Regions from separate parts of the Homo sapiens genome. Here region 2 is linked to region 1. The links are contacts of gene promoters, found by promoter capture Hi-C in human tissues and cell types (Jung and others, 2019). All regions are on one chromosome and are shown on one strand. The core of a region is centred on a gene start or on the middle of the fragment in contact, and the rest is flanking DNA. Distances in the headings are between cores, read along the strand shown.

Region 1 (3,623 bases), core at 639-3,138:
CTTATTTCAGGATTGCTGTGAAGATTAAGTAAAATAATATTGGCGAAGGGCTTCAAACCATGACTGACACACAAGTTCTCTGTGGGTGCTTGCCATTACCTGGAGGAGGCCAGTGTCCAGGGTGGAGGGCATATCCCAGACCTTAAGGAAGTTAAAGGATGAGGGGAGCAGCGCAGCAAAACTCCCTCCCCCTGCAGGCTGTCATGTGAGTGGTCCCTGCAGGACAGAAGAGGTGATGAAAAAGCAAAAGGAAGAAGGGGTTAGAAAGTGAGAGGGAGGAGATTGGAGAGACTGGGAACACACACAGAAAGTAGCATGGCGGAGAAAGAAGCCACCTGAGATCAAGTGAAACCATAAAGAGAAGAAAAAAGCCAGAACTGAAATAGAGAAGTTGGGCCAGGAATGACTGTCTATGCTGTAGTGGGAAGAATCTTGGGCTTGGGGTGGGAGCCTGGGTTCTGTCCCTTGCTGCATAACCTCTTGGCAGAGTGGCCTTGGAAAAGTCACTTATTTCCATTGAGTCTTTTTTTTTTCCATCCGTGAAGGTGAAAATAGTCAACGCCAACCTCACAAAGCTGTTGGCACGATTAAAGGAGGGTACTTTATGGTTGGTGCCTGAGCACCCAATCAGTACTGAGGGAAACTCTTCTGCCCATAGCAGTCCAGGGCAGAGCACTGTGGCAGACAGAAGCAGCGCTACGCCGCATCGCCTTTCAGCGTGCAGGCCCAGGAATGAGCGAGGCAGTGGGCGGGGAAGACAGGCACGGGGAATCTGGGGACAGATAAAGGAAACTCGTGATGGGGCGAGGCTGGGCTGAAGAGAAACAGATTGGGGTAGAGCTGCAAAGGGAGGGGTCCACTGGAAGGCGAGGGGGGAGGCCGGGAAGAGAGAGGGTGGGAAGGCAGTGTGAGATGGGAGGGCAGTGTGAGAAGAAAAGCAGGCTGGGGAAGAGGGATTGGAATGCAGAAGGAACTTGGGGAAGGAGGAAGTCCTGCAGGCGGGAGGGAAAGAAGAGAGGGAAAATGGGGATGCAGTGGAGGCGGGGGGCAGGCCGCGAGAGGGAGAGGATCCCGGGAGCAGACGAAGAAGTGGAGCAGCTAAAGTCTGCGTCAGAAGAGGTTGGGGACTGCGAGAGGAGAGGCTGGGGCCTGCAGGGGAGCGCAGCAGCTTTTAGCATCGATCCAAACTCTAAAGACTCGTGGCCTTTGCCTGACCTCGAGGGTCGGGAATAGACGCCTGTCTTTGTGGAGAGCGATACCCAACCGAGAAAATGGGGCTGTTCCGAGCTGGGCCCTGCGCCTGGCCCAGGGCGAGGCTTCTCTGGCTCCGGGCTGGCCCCTGAGGGGCGCAAACGGCAGGCCTGGCGGTTGGGGCCGAGGAGGGAGGGTACCACCGCCCCGAGGCAGCACGCAGCCTGCAGCAGAGGCGCCTGCTCCAAGCTGTCTCTTGGGGGCGCCGCCGCCGCTTCCCTCCTCCGGGGCCGCTCGCTCCCAGGAAAGTGGAGGCGGCTGGCGAGGACCGAGAGCCGGGGCCGCGCTGCGGAGGGACCACACCTCCGGGAGTTCGAGGGGGACCCTGGCGCGGCGGGCCAGCCTTTGCTCCCCGGCCACGGGCCGGCAGCGCCCGCCTTCCCCCGGTCAGCGCTTGCGGCCCGCGCCGCGCGCACCGCCCGGCAACCCCGCGCGCGTCCCGCGGGGGCGCTGCGTCTTCCTGCCACACCGGCGCACCGCGGCCCCTCTCCCCCACACCTCCGGCCCGCACCACCCGGCTCTCCTCCCACCCTCCCCACCCCTCCTCTGCCCTCCCTCCCCATTCCTCCCCTCCCGGCGAGGGGCGGGAGGGGGCGTGGCGGGGCCGGGGTTTGTGTGGCTGGGACCCGGCTCCTCGCACTCCGAGTCCGCCCGAGGAGCCGGGCCCCGGCCGCTGTCCAGCCGCTCCGTGCCCCGCGCGTCCTGCGCCGCCGCCACCGCCTCCTGGGGAGACGCAGCCACTTGCCCGCCATGGATACTCCCAGGGTCCTGCTCTCGGCCGTCTTCCTCATCAGTTTTCTGTGGGATTTGCCCGGTTTCCAGCAGGCTTCCATCTCATCCTCCTCGTCGTCCGCCGAGCTGGGTTCCACCAAGGGCATGCGAAGCCGCAAGGAAGGCAAGATGCAGCGGGCGCCGCGCGACAGTGACGCGGGCCGGGAGGGCCAGGAACCACAGCCGCGGCCTCAGGACGAACCCCGGGCTCAGCAGCCCCGGGCGCAGGAGCCGCCAGGCAGGGGTCCGCGCGTGGTGCCCCACGAGTACATGCTGTCAATCTACAGGACTTACTCCATCGCTGAGAAGCTGGGCATCAATGCCAGCTTTTTCCAGTCTTCCAAGTCGGCTAATACGATCACCAGCTTTGTAGACAGGGGACTAGGTAAGTGGCAAAGAAAACGCTCGACTCCCCTCCCGCTGGAGCTCGGCAGCCAGGGAGCTGTTCCCGCTGGAGGCTACATTTGTGAATTCCCTTCCTGCTCTGGACACTTCCTTTTTACTTTTCTTAAATTGTTTTTCTCAAGCTCGAGTAAGTTTCTGAATGTGGCTGCGGATTCTATTCCAGTCTCTAAACCTCCCTTCCTTTCCCCCCCTTTCTTTCTCTCTCCCTTCTTTCCTTCTTCCTCTTTTGCAGAAGGCAGCGTGGTTGCCGCTTGTTGGTGGCTGGTGGGGGAAACGTGGAGGACGGGAGGCAGCAGGCGGATGAACCCGGCTGGAGAGGGGTCGGGATGGGGACTGATGGAATCGGTGTCTCGGGATACTGGGTTCGCAGTCCAAGGCCTGAGCTGCTGGGGCAGATCTAGGGCATGAGACAGCCTTGGAAAGCCCTGGGCAAAGCCGGCACTAGGGAGTCCCACAGTCTGAGGAACTAGTCCGCGAGCGGCGTCGGGCAGCCCCCTGGTCCTGGCGCCGCGCGGGTTTTCCGTTGGTCCCTGCGCTGGGTGGGATGGTCAGCCGGGCTGGAGCCCTGCGCCCTCCGGCTTTTTTGCTCCAGCGTGGTGCTCCCGGCTGCTCCGAGGCCTCAACACGAGTGGTTTCTGCAGATGCGGCGGCAGCAGTTGGGCGGGCCGGGACAGGGACGGCTAAGTTCGGAGGTTGTGGGTACTTAATACACAAAGGTACATGGGTATGCCCATCCACCTTTCTCAGCCAGGCGACGTTCCTCTCTCTACGCTATTCCTGAGGGCTGGTGGGGGTCTGGGAAATCCCTGGTACCCTCTGTGGGAACGCCTGCATGTGTGGGTGTCTGCGGAAACCCTTGCGGCCCCTTCTTGCCACCGGCGTTGATCTGCAGCGTGGCCAGTGCCCTCAAGAAAACCTCGCACCACCTCTGGTCCCAGAAATCAGGGAAGGATCCACAGGCATCGGAAACTAAGCTCCTAAAGGAGAGAGACAATAATGTGGAAGGAGACAGGAAAGGAAGGGAGAAAAAGGAAAGGAAGAGTAAAGAGAAGGAAGGAAGAAAATGACGGGATAAAAGCGATTTAGGCAGATATCCACTCCTCCATCCTCCCTAGACTTAGCTCCATGACTTTGACCTGCTCCCAGTTAAGTGGGGTTGCCCGGAAACCTTGCAGCGCTGGGGTTCGGGATTCGGA
Region 2 (3,623 bases), core at 331-2,830, 36 kb after region 1:
TTGCCTTCTTTTTGGGGGCAGACAGGAAGTGGGGAGAGAGAACTGCTTGATCTCTAAGCCTCTAAGGAGGACCCCCCTCCTCGTCTTTCCTTGCTCATTGCATCCCTAAAATATGGAAAGAAATGTATTACCAGCTAAAAACAGAATACAGTTTTTTTTTTCCCCAGAAGATGGAGGAATCAAAAGATGCCCCACCATCACTCCTTTGCAATTTCTCTTGTTTTTTTCCTAAGCTGGGACATTTTTTCTGCCTTAGTTTTCCTGTTCTGCCGCTCAGATTTCAGTTTTGTGTGAGATTTACTGCTCTTTGGAAAGATGAGGTTCTGTGAGTCAAAAACAAACAGAAAATGAAAAAAAAAAAAAACTATGCTAAAGCATGACTCAATTCTTGCTTTCATTCAATCAACTTTCACAAAGCATCTAGTACATGCCAAGCATTGATTTGGGGAGGGCACACACCCTGTCCTGCCTGCAGCATCTGGTCTTGCTGCCCTTTAGGTGGGAGTTGAGCCAGGTAGCAGCTAATGAATGGTGGGCCACCCTCTGGAGGGCAGGGATTAATTGTGGATGGAGGTGCTAAAGTGGCCAACCACGATTGCAAGGATAGAAAGCGTGTTGGAATCGCTTTCTGTGATCTTGTAACTCTTCAAATCCCTCTAGGAATATTGAAATTCCCAGTTTAAGGAAAACTGCCTTCACACAGTGGGATATAGCCACAGAAATGCATTTATATAGAATTTTTGCTGTTTATTCTAAAGAAGTAGGTCAAAACCAGGCAAAAACTCCCTTCCCTCTTCCACCTCCCTTTTCAGGGACATTTGGCAGGAGGCATTTTTGATTGTTGTGGTTGGGGGGACAGTGAAGGTGGCATCTAGCAGGTAGAGGTCAGGGAGGCTGCTAAACATCTTTCAATCCACAGACAGCCCCCCATAACCAAGAATTATCAGGCCCAAAGTGTCAACTGTGCTGAGGTTGGAAACCCCGTTCTAAAGGAAGAGACCTCTGACCCTTCCCCAATTGTGCAATGATAGTAATAATGCACATTTGACAAGCACTTACTGTGTGTCAGATGCTGTTCTTAGGGTTTTACTTGCAGTACTTCACTGATTTCTCATTATCAATGACAAAGGAAGTCTTATCATCATCCCCATTTTCCAGATGTGGAAAATGAGTCCCGGAGAGATTAAGTGTTTTGCTGCAAGTCTCCAAGCTAGAAAGCAACTGGGTCAGGATTTGAATCTCAGCAGCCTGTGGCCAAGTTCATATACACTTAACCTTATTTATAGGTTGCCTCTCTCCTGGACAACAAAGCTTGCTAAAGTTCATTGTTCTCAGTTGGAAGTATAGTTTTTTTTTTTTTTTTTTTTTTTTTTTTTTTTTTTTTTTGCTTGCGTGAACAGAGCAACCTAGAAGAGGGAGTAAAGGAGAAGGGACAATCTCAACAATTTGTCTTTGTCATGAGAATAATCAAAGTCCTCTTGTCTCTATTGCTGCACTGGAGTGGGTGGATCCTGGTGAACATGAAGGAAGAGATGCACCTGACCAGACAGGACCCGCATTAATGACAGGGCACACTGTTTCAGGCAAGCCGCTCCTCTGAAGCCACACACACCCTGCTCGCTGATCTCCCTGCAGTAGAAGGTTAAGTCTGCAGCATCAGCCAGCCCCGGAACCCTTTGAAATACCATGTCGGAAACTTCTTGGCAAAGCCTAACAATAGAAACCATAAGCAGATTCTAAATTACCATTATCATTAATCGGGGTTGACATGTAACTGGCCCCTCCTAAGTACTGCTCAATCACTGCCCCCCTTTATTCCTTTCTCCAAGGTTCCCACAGGCCTCCTTAGACTAAAGGGTACCTGAGCCGTGCCCCAGTGTGTGGTCCTCGGCAGAACAATGGAAGCAAAGTAATCCCTGACAGAGCCGGGCTGGGACCTTCGACATAAAGCAGATATGGGGCAATGTGAGAAAGGGCCATGGGGAGAAGCTCAGACAGGGAAGAAGACCGGGAGAGCAGCCAGGTATTAAGAGGCCGGGTAGGGGCAAGGAGAGCCAATAATACAGGGTGGGTGAAATGGAATGAACACGGTTTGTGTTCAGAGTTGGCATTTGTCACTTTAATGGATTCCAAAGAAGGAGGCAGGCATGCTTTCCAACTAGCCTGGGAAACCAGCTACATATGGGAGAAGAGTTTTTAAAAAGCCCTTCATTCAAGAAACCTATGTGTAAGCTATTGTTTTAGAGCATTTTTAAAATAACTGTTAATTATGCTTCAGATTTTTTTCACTTTTGCACCACACATGGGTTTTAGGAACTGCAAGAAGCCCAGACCATATCTTTAATCTGTCCATTCACATATTCAGCTATTTGGCAAATATTTATTGAGATCCTACTAAGTGCCAAGCACTGTTCATAGCACTGGGGATGCAGCCATGGACGAAATACGTATGGCCTGGCCCTCACAGAGACTGCATTTTAGAGGGGAGACAGAAATCAAAACAGTAAGCATAATAAACAAGTAAATGACTTCTTCTCATCAAAGGACACAATCAACACAATGGAAAGGCAATCTATGGAATCAGAGAAAATATTTGCAAATTGTATATCTGATAGGGGTTAATATCCAGAATACATAGAGAACTCCGACAACTCAACAATGTCAACAATAAAAACTTGATTTGAAAATAGGCAAAGGACATGAATAGACATTTCCCCAAAGAAGATATACAATTGGCCAATAAATACATGAAAAGATGCTCAACAGCACTAATTGTTAGGGAAATGCAAATAAAAGCCACAATGAGATATCACCTCACATCCATTAAGATGTCTACTATATTAAAAAACCAAAACTCCAGAAAATAACAAGTGTTGGTGAGGATGTGGAGAAATTGGAACCCTTCTGCAATATTGACAGGAATGTAAAATGGTGCAGCCACAATGGAAAACATCATGGCAGTTTCTCAAAAAACAAAAATAAAATTACCATATGACCCAGCAATTCTGCTTCTGAGTATATACCCAAGAGAACTGAAATCAGGATCTTAAAGAGAGATTTGTACACCCATGTTCATGGCAGCATTATTCACAACACCTGAAAGGTGGAAGCAACTCAAGTGTCCATCGAAGAATGAGTAGATAAGCAAAATGTGATATATACGTACAATGAAATTTTCTTCAGCCTTAAAGATAAAGGGAATTCTGATATATGCTACAACACGATGACCCTTGAGGACATTTATGCTGAGTGAAGGAAGACAGCCACAAAAAGACAATTCGACTTTATTTTTTTTTTATTATAATGTCTTTTTCTTTTCTTTTTTTTTTTATTATACTTTAAGTTCTAGGGTACATGTGCACATTGTGCAGGTTAGTTACATATGTATACATGTGCCATGCTGGTGCGCCGCACCCACTAACTCGTCATCTAGCATTAGGTATATCTCCCAATACTATCCCTCCCCCCTCCCCCCACCCCACAACAGTCCCCAGAGTGTGATATTCCCCTTCCTGTGTCCATGTGATCTCATTGTTCAATTCCCACCTATGAGTGAGAATATGTGGTGTTTGGTTTTTTGTTCTTGCGATAGTTTACTGACAATGATGATTTCCAATTTCATC

The links. The method cuts DNA at HindIII sites, captures the fragments that hold promoters and counts their contacts. A contact is called where the count stands out against the background at its distance.
Region 2: a fragment that was not itself captured here is called in contact with the fragment with the promoter of GDF6 in region 1 in 1 of the 25 tissues and cell types used here (heart right ventricle).

Annotation. Positions count from the first base shown.
Region 1 is chr8:96,159,071-96,162,693 of GRCh38, reverse strand. It overlaps GDF6 (growth differentiation factor 6), which reads left to right and starts at 1,888. Exons shown (of 2, transcript NM_001001557.4): 1 at 1,888-2,407. The coding sequence starts at 2,002. The HindIII fragment of the contact is 22,921 bases long and covers 1-3,623 here.
Region 2 is chr8:96,122,393-96,126,015 of GRCh38, reverse strand. No RefSeq gene overlaps it. Among named protein-coding and RNA genes, the nearest start is that of GDF6, 37 kb to the left of the region's middle. The HindIII fragment of the contact is 3,843 bases long and covers 1-3,501 here.